Regions from separate parts of the Homo sapiens genome. Here regions 1 and 2 are each linked to region 3. The links are contacts of gene promoters, found by promoter capture Hi-C in blood cells and fetal thymus (Javierre and others, 2016). All regions are on one chromosome and are shown on one strand. Each heading gives the region's core, a stretch centred on a gene start or on the middle of the fragment in contact. The rest is flanking DNA. Distances are from core to core; before and after follow the strand shown. Region 1 overlaps VPS37B (VPS37B subunit of ESCRT-I). Region 2 has its middle 3.3 kb from the start of HIP1R. Region 3 holds the start of PITPNM2 (phosphatidylinositol transfer protein membrane associated 2).

The links. The method cuts DNA at HindIII sites, captures the fragments that hold promoters and counts their contacts. A CHiCAGO score of 5 or more calls a contact.
Region 1: a contact is called between a fragment that was not itself captured here and the fragment with the promoter of PITPNM2 in region 3, in 1 of 17 cell types (fetal thymus). The highest score is 5.3, in fetal thymus.
Region 2: a contact is called between a fragment that was not itself captured here and the fragment with the promoter of PITPNM2 in region 3, in 1 of 17 cell types (M1 macrophages). The highest score is 5.3, in M1 macrophages.

The regions. Positions count from the first base shown.
Region 1 is chr12:122,864,502-122,868,664 of GRCh38, forward strand. It overlaps VPS37B (VPS37B subunit of ESCRT-I), which reads right to left. Exons shown (of 4, transcript NM_024667.3): 3 at 3,979-4,061; 4 at 829-3,106. The coding sequence ends at 2,615. LOC124903039 (a long non-coding RNA gene) reads left to right here. Exons shown (of 2, transcript XR_007063500.1): 1 at 1-81; 2 at 499-856. Among named protein-coding and RNA genes, the nearest start is that of VPS37B, 30 kb to the right of the region's middle. The HindIII fragment of the contact is 5,724 bases long and covers 1-4,163 here.
Region 2 is chr12:122,830,237-122,833,985 of GRCh38, forward strand. No RefSeq gene overlaps it. Among named protein-coding and RNA genes, the nearest start is that of HIP1R, 3.3 kb to the right of the region's middle. The HindIII fragment of the contact is 2,993 bases long and covers 563-3,555 here.
Region 3 is chr12:123,149,612-123,153,347 of GRCh38, forward strand. It overlaps PITPNM2 (phosphatidylinositol transfer protein membrane associated 2), which reads right to left and starts at 1,479. Exons shown (of 26, transcript NM_020845.3): 1 at 1,142-1,479. It also overlaps a transcript of MPHOSPH9 not described here. RefSeq lists silencers at 1,033-1,122, 1,223-1,362, 1,383-1,642, 1,663-1,862. The HindIII fragment of the contact is 4,737 bases long and covers 1-3,266 here.

The DNA of each region.
Region 1 (4,163 bases), core at 1,516-4,015, 280 kb before region 3:
AAACCACAGAAATTTCTCCTGTACATTCTCATAGAACAATGATGTGCCAGGAATGGCAGCTATTACAGGAGACAGCAACAGGTGAGCTTGCTCTCATCTCAGTTCCTCAAGTCCCTTGCAGGGGCATTGTGACCCAGATACACAGCTTAGCTGGGGTGGTGAGGACGCAGGCACACGGCTCAGCCGGGGCGACGGGCATACCTAGCTGCAGGCGCACGGCTCAGCTGGGGCGGCGGACATACATAGCTGCAGGCGCACGGCTCAGCCGGGGCGGCGGGCACAGGGCAGTTCTGTAGCTCTGCAAGGAGGCAGGGTTTGCAGGGTCCCCTCCTCTCGGCCTAGAGAAGGAAACAGCACCCACTGGGCTTTGAAATGGGCAGAGGCAACTGCCTTCTTGAAACACCTGCTGGCAAGTCCCCAAAGCAAAACATCAGAGCCACTGGTTTTCCCACTAAAAACCAACACAGAAAATCCTAACAAGTACCACCATTCACACAGCACACGGCGGCAACCTCACGGACAGAGAGCAGGCACAGTCTGAGCCCTGAGGTCACCCTCAGTCCCCTACTTGGACACAGTGGCTGTGATCCTGAAGACACCCTCTTAAGACACAGAACATGCCCTGTACGTGACTGCTGTTTATGAGACTGGTGACCAAGAGGGTAAGAGGCCCCACCTGTGCCAGGGGCCCTGGACAGGCAGAGATTTTGTCTTCAGCTTCAAAAACAGACGTCCCAGCCAGCTTCCCTGCTGGAACTTTGATCACTGATGTTTCAGAACCAGACATCATGAACATCCACATCCCCAAGTAAATAAGTGACAGGCCTGTTATTAATAATTCTCTATTTATTAAAAAGGGTCCTACAGCTTTACAGCCACAGCACCGGACACGGCCCTGGACAGCGACGGCGAGCCCGGCCAGGGGCCGCTTTGCAACTTCAATGCCAAGCTCACGTCTGGCTGCGACCGTGGCAGGCTGTGGCATCCCCGACAGCGGCCGGTGGCGGAGGTATGGGGGCGGGTGGCACCGCTCACTCGAGATTCACAGAACATGGCAAGCCCGCCTGACTGGCATGGCAGTGAATCGTCCTGTACAGCTTCATTTCCTTTAAGAAAACAGTTACAGTAGAGTTCAAGTCCGAGAGCAGGAATGTACGGTCACTGAGGACAAAAGGCAGTGGCCTGGCCCGTGGCCCAGACCCCGCTTCAGTTCTGCCTTCTGTCACCCTGGCGGCTAGGCACAGGTCGGGGCCCTGGATGCCCGACAAGTGACAGGGGAGGGGCGGGCCAGAAGGTCCACTGGTAAGCACCTCGGCCTTTTCCGTCAACAGGTGCCACTGCCCCCTGCTGGGCCCTGGGCCTTCAGCACACATGGCACGTGAAGATGAGGTCCCACAGGGGTGGGGGAAGAGCAGGTGCAGACGGTTGGAGTGCAGCCCCGTCCCTCAATCCCATGGGGCGGGCTTTCGCCAAACCCCTAACGTTGCCCACCCTGAGGCCCAGCCACCAGCCACCCAGGGGCAGAGGATATTGGCTAAGGGTAGCCTGGGTCAAGGCGGCCGGACGTCTTGACCACCTGTAACAGGGCAATGAACTTGGACAAGCCCTTCAGAGAAAGCAGAGCCGGGGCCTTGCCCAGCCCCTAGCAGGTGTGAGTCCCGGCACCTGGGGAAGCTAAGGCACAGCACGGACACCCGAGGGGGGGGCACCGTGCACTGCTTGCACAAAAGGAAATTGCATCCACTTCATCGGCATTTCGATCTGCTCAAGACAGTATCTGCATTTTTTATAAAATTTCCCTGAATGGTCTTGGGAGTGTCAAAAAAGTTTTTTCAATATAAAACAGGAAAATCACACACGTAGTAAAAATATTGGGGGATTATTTCTTCATAGAAACCTTCAGGGCCGGCTCCAGGCAGGCGGGAGAGGAGGAGCTGGGGACACAATTTGCTGTGCAAAGTCCCACTCGTGCGCTCCCCTCCCACACCAGTGGCCGTTCTCCGGCCTCTGGACTCGGCAGTGGGCCCAGTGCAAACTTTGCTTGTGGCTCTGAAGCAAGAGCAGCAGCCAGGTCAGGCGGTGACTATGGTGACCTCTCCCCAACAGATTCAGTGAGCAACAACGCAGCCACAGGTGGTGGCCCAGCCACGGCGCTCTTCCAGGCCGGCCGGCGCCCACCCGCCCTCACCAGGGCTGCAGTGGCCGGTGGGTGAGACACATAGGACTGTCTTTCGAAAATAAAATAAGTATCATGAACCATGCTCATTAAATAAAGCTGCAACAGAAGGACCACGATTCTAAATGGGACTGGGGGAGAGGCCTATTTCTTCCCAAACATGAGTTCATCAACGCTAAGATACTTAGAAATCACACGGATAATGCAAACCGATGCAACGCACAGGTGTCAGGCTGTAACCCGGCACACACAACTGCCTTGATGCCCAAAGCCTGGGCTCCTACTACTCACCACTGACCTACAGTTCTAAAATCAGACAGACACGCTGGCCCAGGGCCCCAGAGCCCTTGGCACAGAGCGGACCTCCAGCCTCCTTCCCGTGAGCAGAGCACAACACGCCAGGTGGAAGAAGTCTCCCGGGAAGGACCGCGCCGGCGCTCACTGGAGGATGAAACCCGGCTGGTGTGGAGGGAGCCGGGGCGGGGGTCTCTGAGGGAGAGGTGGCGGATATGGGGACACGAACTGCGAAGAGAATCCTTGCTGAGTGGGGAGGCCCACGCGGGGGGGCAGGGGCGGGCACTGTAATCCTGGGTACGGCACGGCCTGTCCCGAACTCATGGCCGCAGTAAACGGGGTGGCTAAGCGTCCCGCAGGCACCGGGGGTGGTGGGGGGGGGATGCGCCGAGGTGCAACGGCAGGAGGCCCACTGGCCTCTGGGGCAGGGTAGGGAAGGGGGGCGGTAGGTGCCAGTTCGGGCAGCCTGGGGGGCAGCGGGGCCAGGGCCTGTGGGAGTCTCTGCCCCTTTAGGACCATCTCCTGGAGCTTCTCGATTTTCACCCGTCGCATGTGGGCCAGTTTCCGTTTGCTCTGATAGACATCAATGAAGGAATCCAGAGGAAGTTCTCCATCCAGAAACTTCTCTGCCATGTTCTGAAAGAGGCAGAAACCTGGTTACAGGGACAGCCAGATGGGGAGGATGCTCCCTTCGTGGTCTAGGCACAAGGAGAGGCAACGCCCAGCTGCTTCCAACACTGCCCCCTCCCTGTAACCACCCAGAGGGCCTCGCTCCTGCTCCAGATCCCAGAGGTCATGGGCTCAGGCTTCAGCATGAGCTGCCACTAGGTGGAGAGGACGACAGCCCTGCTGCGCACCCCACCACCAGCGTGACAGGCAGAGGAGCTGGCCTTTGGGTGAGGGCTCCGACTCCTGGGTCCCAGGCCTCTCTCGAGCCCGCTGGAGTCCAACACCTCCTTGCTTCCACCCGGCTGCACCCTGACTGACAGACTCGCCCTGGGTGGGTAAGCAAGACAGAAACACCTGTGCCCCCAGGGCTTCAGAGTTCATCGAGCCCAGCCCTATCTTGGCAAGACCCTGCCGGCCCCAGCCTGCAACAACTGCACAACATTCGACCTTGACTCATTTCCTTATCGCCTGGCGAGGCTCAAGGCTCTAATGCGCAGCTGGACGTGTCCCAGAAGCTCTGTAGCCTCCTCCCAGCTGGCCCTTGAACGACGGCACGTGGTAATCCGCCACTGGCCCCAGGGGCCGGCGTTCACAGGGTGGCACGCATGCCCTCTCTTGGCCCTCGCTCGGACCTGCCCTCACTCACCCCGCTGCTCCCTGGACCCCTGCCTGGCACTTTCCCCAGCACACAGGCCAGGCTGCCTGCTGGTATACAGCCCGTACACCTGGGAGGCACCACTCCTGGCCGTGGCGGTGTGGCACTCACGGTCCCTGGAGGCAGCGGGCCCACGGACTGCCCAAAGCGCCCCAAGGATTCCACCAAGGCTGGTGGGCTTTACCTCAGTGTCTTCCTCAATCTTGGCCCCTTCTGCCTGAAGAAGTGCTAACAGGGTCTCCAAGGAAGCACTGCTAGACTGTCTGTCTGGAAAAAAAGCAAGAGGTATGACAAAAGTGAGAGGTGTCCAGGTAAAGCCCTTCATGATGCCAACCACGGCAGGATTGCACCTTCCTTTCCAGGAAGCTG
Region 2 (3,749 bases), core at 809-3,308, 320 kb before region 3:
AGCACTTAGAGAGGCCAAAGCTCGCACATCATTTGAGATCAGGAGTTCGAGACCAGCCTGGCCAACATGGCGAAACACCTCTCTACTAAAAATACAAAAATTAGCTGGGCGTGGTGGTGGGTGCCTGTAATCCCAGCTACTCAGGAGGCTGAGGCACAAGAATCACTTCAACCTGGGAGGCAGAGGTTGCAGTGTGCTGAGATTGAGCCATGCCTCCAGCCTGGGCAACAGAGCCAGACTCTGTCTCAAACAAACAAACAAACAAACAAAAAACACCCAGAATGGTCTTTGAGAGAAGTTGATTGAATGAAAAGTGTACATGAATCAGTTCTTTAAAGGATGATGTCTGGGTTCTCAGCCAGATGCATGCTTAAGAAACCCAACCACAACAACAACAAAAAGAAACCCAACAAAAAATCAAAGAATTTTGAGCACACAGTAGGTGCTTTGCTGGCCACTGGAGACACAACAATGAGCAAAGCAGACAATCTAGTCGTAGAAACACACTAATCTAAGAATCCCATACATAGTTCACAAGAGACTGGTTAGTGCTACAAAAGAAAGCTTTGAGATATGATGACAGCTTATAATAGGGACTCAGGTGAAGGGTGGAGTGTTAAGAGAATGCTTCCTTAAAGAAGTGACATCTGAGCCAAGAGTTAAAGACAAGTGGATGCTAAGTAGGGCGAACGGGAAGCAGAAGAGAATTCCAGGCAGTAGGAACAGCATGTGCAAAGGCTCTGAGGTGGGAGGGAACATGACGCATCTGGGACCTGATGGGCCAGGATGGTGCAAGATGAAGCCAGGGACAGAGGCTGGGGCCAGATCATGCATACGAGTCGATGAGTCAGTGTGGGTGTGGTAGCATACCATGTTTTAGTGGGCCAGATGATGTAAACTCTCCTGTGCATCTTGGATTTTCCTTAAAACGAGGTCTTATTTGTATTCCAATTGCTTTGCTTTTGTAATAGGGGTGAGCAGGAATTCAACAGCCCTCGAGATACACCAAAACAGAACCCTGATTCTGATGGCATGAAGAATCTCAGGCCGGGAGCAGTGGCTCCTGCCTGTAATGCCAGCACTTTGGGAGGCTAAGGTGGGAGGATTGCTTGAGTCCAGGAGTTCAAGACCAGTCTGGGCAACGTGGTGAGACCCCCGTCTCTACAAAAAATTTAAAAATTAGCCAGGCATGGTGGTGCACACCTGTGGTCCCAGCTATTCTGGAGGCTGAGGTGGGAGGATCATTTGAGCCCAGGAGGTTGAGGCTGCAATGAGCCATAATCCAGCCACTGCACTCCAGCAGGGGTAACAGAGCAAGCAAGACCCCGTATCCCCCCCGCCAAAAAAAAAGCCAGTCAGTGACAGGGACAATAGTAGACCAGGCCTCCTGCCTGAAGATGTTAGAGAGATGAACCAGAAAAATTAAGAGTGGGGAAGTTTGGGCCAGGCACAGTGGCTCACGCCTGTAATCCCAACACTTTGGGAGGTCGAGGCAGGTGGATCACCTGAGGTTGGGAGTTCAAGACCAGCTTGACCAACATGGTGAAACCCTGTCTCTACAAAAAATACAAAAATTAGCCAGGCTGTGGTGGCGCACGCCTGTAATCTCAGCTACTCAGGAGGCTGAGGCAGGAGAATTGCTGGAACCCAGGAAGCGAAGGTTGCTGTGAGCTGAGATCATGCCACTGCACTCCAGCCTGGGTGACAGAGGGCAACCCTGTCTCAAAAACAAAAACAAACAAACAAAAGATTGGGGAAGTTTGTATCCTTATGTCCTCAGTGATACTCTTTCGTGAGATCAGCTGTATGTTGAAGTATACCAAATGAGGTATTTGTTTACTCACTCTTTCAGCCCTTCATTTGACATACATATTGAACATTGCTATGTGCCAGGTGCCCTGCTAGGCACTGAGTACATAAAACTGAGTAATACAGGGTGGCCCTCTAATAGCTCAAAATCTTACCTACAAGCACATAAAGTACAATCCCTTAGAGATGTGTTAGGAGAGTGCTCTCAGGTCCTAAACAGCAAGCCTGAGGTAGTATAGTACTGAAAGTCATAGACCACAAAATGTAGTCCAAATGGCATGGGTGTTGCGGGCACTGGCCTTGAAATCAGGCACATCTGGGTCTGGATCCCGAATGCAGCGTTTACCAGTTGTGTGAACCTGGGCTAAACTCTCTGAACCTGAGCTTGTTTGTTGGTCTGTAAAAAATACCATCAAGAGGCCAGGTGCAGTGGCTTCGGCCTGTAATCCCAGTACTTTCAAGGTGGGCGAATTCACTTGAGCCCGGGAATTTGAGACCAGCCTGGACAACTTAGCAAGACTCTGTCTCTACAAAAAAACTTTAAAAATTAGCTGGGCATGGCCAGGCGCAGTGGCTCATGCCTGTAATCCCAGGACTTTGGGAAGCCGAGGTGGGTAGATCACGAGGTCAAGAGATCGAGACCATCCTGGCCAACATGGTGAAACTCTGTCTCTACTAAAAATACAAAAATTAGCTGGGCGTGGTGGCGGGCGCCTGTAGTCCCAGCTACTTGGGAGGCTGAGGCAGGAGAATTGCTTGAACCCGGGAGGCAGAGGTTGCAGTGAGCCAAGATCGTGCCACTGCACTCCAGCCTGGTGGCAGAGTGAGACTCCATCTCAAAAAAAAAAAAAAATTAGCTGGGCATGATAGTGCATCCCTCCAGTTCCAGCTACTTAGAAGGCTGAGGTGGGAGGATCACTTGAGCCCAGGAGGCAGAAATTGCAGTGAGCTATGATTATGCCACTGCATTCCGGCCTGGGTAACGAAGCCAGACCCTGTCTCAAAAAAAATAAATAAATAAAAATAAAGTTGTTGATGCTTTATTTTTTATTTATTTATTTTGAGAGAAGGTTTCACTCTGTTGTCTAGGCTGGAGTGCAGTGGCATGATCTCAGCTTACTGCAACCTCTGCCTTGCAGGCCTAAGTGATCCTCCCACCTCAGCCTCCTGGGTAGCTGGGACTACAGGCACGCCATCACGGCCAGCTAAGTTTTTCGTATTTTTTGGTAGAGATGGGGTTTCACCATGTTGCCCAGAATGGTTTCGAACTCCTGAGCTCAAGTGATCCACCTGCCTCAGCCTCCCAAAGTGCTCGGAATACAGGCGTGAGCCACTGTGCCGAGCCTCATCAACAACTTTAAAGAAGAATAAGTGAGATACTGTTTAACAGATGCTGAGCCTGGTGCCCGGCACAGTAATAGGCTCTGTGATTATTTAAAAAGCCAGTTGCTAATGGGAAGTCTCTGTGGCAGATGTGCTAGACCTACAGGGGCTGTTGCCTGGTTGAAAAGGGATGCTGTATATGCGTGAAGGGTCACAGGAGAACCACTTTTGTTCCGTGTGGAAAAAGGAGTGTGAGAAACAGCTGGAGTACCGCAAAAAGCCCCTTTACTGTGGTCTTTATTAGAGCACAGCTATCAACTAAGTTGACTAAGTTACATATGAAGGGTTTAGCCCAGTGCCTGCCAAATAATAAGCATTCAGTACATATCAGCTATTGTGATTCTACCGTTATTCTGATAAAGAAGCTTTTTAGTGATTGGAATTAGAGAAAACAGGATTAATTTCTCCTTTTGGTGCAGTGACAGGAGAGTCTTGGCAAATGTTATCTTTTGGGGTCAGCTCTAGCTCTTGGGCTGGAGGGTGAGGAATCAGTTAAAGAAAAGGGTCCCTGGCGGGGTGTGGTGGCTCACGCCTGTAATCCCAACACTTTGGGAGGC
Region 3 (3,736 bases), core at 229-2,728:
CGTCCAGCAGGGGAGATAAGGCAGATGGAAAAGTAACTATAAAATAAGGCAGACGGTGATAAGAGTTACACAGGAGATACAGATAGCAGGCAGTGGGAGTTCAGAGCAGAGAGGAGTCTGGGGGATGGATGTTAGGGGAGATTCAGATGAAGGGGAGCACTTACTGCCTTCCCTCCAGAAGTGGGGGGTCTATCCTAGCAGCTCTGGTCACTCCCAGGTGGAGGCCGGGGAGAGAGCTGGTTGTGGACAAAGACAGATGTTCCAGTGAGGTCTCCTTTGAAGAATCCCGACTCTGGGTGGGGGAGGCAGGTAGGCCGGGGTGTTTGGAGAGGCACCCAGCCCACACTTCAGTGGGAGGGAGAGGAGTGCAGGATGTCTCTGCAGGAGCAAGTCGGTGGAAAGGGGACAAGCCTGGAGGACTTGCCTTGAAATGACATTTGCACCGCGCGCACTATGTTCACCTGGAGTGGCCGTTTGGGATTTCTTGCGGGGAGGCAGTGCACACTGGGGCGGGGGACACTGAACTTTCCCTCTCCCCAAGGCCCCCCGATCAGCCCTGCCACGGATAAGAAAGGATTCGGGGTGGGAAGAAGACAGAGCCGGCACCCCATTACCACACGAAGGGGGCACTGAGGATGGAGACGGGCCACACCCCAACCCTGGGCCCCCGACAAGCAGAGGCCACGGCCCGGGCCTGGGGACGTTCAGCTGGAGGCGGGAAGCAGAGAAGGCGGGCCGGGGGCTCACCTCCGCTTCCTCCCGATAGCCCCTTCCTCGCCCTGGCACCGGCACTGCCCACGCCTGCCCCCCGACCGCTATGACACTTGTCCCTGGCGGGGGTCCCCCACGCGGTCGCGACCGACGGAAATTCGGAAATCAGCGTTTCGGGCACGGATCCAGGGCCGGCGACTCACTGAGGCCAGGCTCGGGCGGTCTCCCGAGCGGGGCTCCCGTACGCCACACCCTCCTCCCTGCCCGGGTCTCCGCTCCCTCCTCCAGCCCCCGGCGGGCTGGAGGCTCGGCGGGCGGGCGGGCCGGGGCCTCTCTGGGAGCCGCCGCCCAGATCCCCAGGTCCCCGGCCAGCGCCCGGCACTGCGGGACTCACCGCGGGCCTGCGGAGCGGCCGCCCGGACGCACTCACCCCGCTCGGCGCGGCCGCGGGCTCTGTCCTCTTCGGGGCCCCGGCTGGGCCGCCGCCACCTCACGCCGCCTCACGGGGAGCGCCCGCCCCGCGGCCCCGGCCCGGCCGGCTGCGCCCCGCGCGCCCCCGCCGCCTGCTGGCCCCGGGCGAGCGGCAGAGCCCCGGCGGGCATTGCTCCCGAGCGTCGCAGGCGGGCGGCGGCGGCGCACGTGCTGGCGGGCGGCTCTCGCTGAGGCGGCCGCGAGCTGAGAAGGAAGCGCCGGGCGGGCGGCCGGGGCCGGCTGGACAGCTCTACGCCGCGGCGCCGCGGTGCCCCGCGCACCCCAGCGGCCGCTGCTGCCCGCGCGCGCCGGGCCGGGCTCGCATTCCCTCAGTGGCGGCGGCGCCTCCTCAGGCCGCGCGGGGGAGCGGCGGCGGCGGCGGCGGGGGCGCGTCCCTGCGGAGTCTCGGCCCGGCCCCGCCGCCTCCGCCGGAAGAAACCTCTCCGACTCGGGCAGCCCGCCTGGTTCCTCAGACCTGCCGCGGCGACCCCGCTCCTCCCCGGCTCGCCCGTGTCCTCAGGGCCCGGGACTGGACTCGGGGGCGGCGGCGCGGATCCCCGCCCCGGGCTCCTCGCCCACCGTCCGCAGCAGCCGAGCGCACTCGGGGGCGGGAACCGGCCGACTTGCGGCCACTGTGACTCTTAAAACAGCCTCATTTTAAAAAATGAAGTTTCTTAGGAGCGAAATGGTAAACCAGGGAGGGCAGAGCGCAGCGGGCAGCTCACCGAAGCCCAGCCCCGGGCGCGGTGCTCGCCACACGGTGGGTCCGCGCTCTCCCCTCAGGACGCCCGGGCCGCGGCCCAGGGAACGGCAGAGCCGGGAGCGCAGCCGTCCCGGTCCCCACCTCAGGGAGTAGCTGGAAGAGGATCACGAACAGTTTAATCCGGATGATCTGGCACGACAGGGCTCTCCAATGGGAAGAGCCCCCGGTGGGGGAGCGCCTGGTGACATTCCTTAAAAACATGAGGTGTTTGTTAGGTTGAGCCAGGGTGGACTTGTTTGGCAAAATCTGAAGTCATGGAACTAAAGAGAGCACACCTAAAACTTAGTGATGTGTGACCCATCCCTACTTGTCACCTTATAAGGCTGAGGAGACGGCGGTGCTCCCCTGGAGGAGAGAGGACAAGCTAAAATTAAGGCGGCCTAGATGACTCCAGATGAAGCCGGGGAGGCCGAGCCCCTGACAGCTGCTCACCTCCTGGGGTCACGGCAGAACCCAACTGAACGGGCCAGGAAGGCCATCGTTCCCGACTCGCCTCCAGGTGCCCCTGACCATGACCACGCAGAGGAGGACCAAGGCGTACCACCATCACCTAGAACGCTTCAGCTCCTTCCCTCCACCAAGAGGTGCCCTAGGATCCATCCAGAAAGATCTGCGGAGCCCACAGAGTCCCAACGGGAACTGTGCTCCTGGATGGACGCCCCTTAACCCATAACTCAAGGACTTCTCTATGCCTGGGACTTAAAATCACCAACAACCCGCTCCTGCAGCCAGCTAGCAGAAATAAACACACAAAGGCCACACGCCAGTTCACAGCCACAAGTATTTATTGAGTGCCTGTAGTGCAAGAAAGAGAGATGGTCCCTGCTCCCGCGGAGCTTACAGCTTCACGACTCCAGCATCTGGCTAGATTCAGAAACAACTGCAGCAAGCACTTGTCTACCCACCAGCAGCACTGTAAAAAGCACATTTCTCACATTATCGGTCACTGTTACAGTGAAATTGTTAGATGTAAAAATTATCCTTGAAATCTGTAGTCATAGAGATGACATGGTACATAATGTCCAGCAAATGCACATTTATGGCTTGATTCCTCACATATCTGAGGGGTCTATGGAAATAAAGTACAAATCAGGCAGAAAAGACTTAGTAACACAGTTCCTAAGAATACTGGGGTAGTAGTTTATTATCAAACTACCATAGAGCTCTTGGCAGGGCAGGAAATTATTTCCAGCAAAATTTGTGCAATATAGTGGATTTAATCAAACCTGCAACTGTCAACCATACATGGTCCCTCATGACAGGTAAATATAATCTACCTGTCTGAATGGTAAAAGGCTACAGGTGTGCATTTATTTTTTAAAGCTTCTTAAAGACTCATAGCACAAGTGGCACATTGAAATCTAGTGAAAACTTGAGATAATCTAAAAATTAAAGTGACAAAAGTGTCTAATTTTACTACATATGTAGGTGCAGAGTTCAGATTTCAAGTAGCGTCCAGCAAAGCACGTGGCTTTTCTGGGCGAGAAGGGGATAGCTTTTGGTTGGCTATCACAGACTCCACCTACATCTCCTAACACCCACTGGCAGGCACTTCCTGTGCATGGTTCTGCCCACAAGCTGTCACCTTTAGATGAAACATTTGAAGGGGCAATTATTTGGAGGATACTGGCAATAATTTTTAGAAAAACAACCTATATTTATACCAAATAACCCCCAAGTCACCAATTAAGACCAAAGTGCTTTCTGAACTTACACGTGACAGGTTATCAAATTTGTTAAATTTTTGGTGGCTAAAAAACCAAACACACCAGAGGGATGCTTAATTTAAAC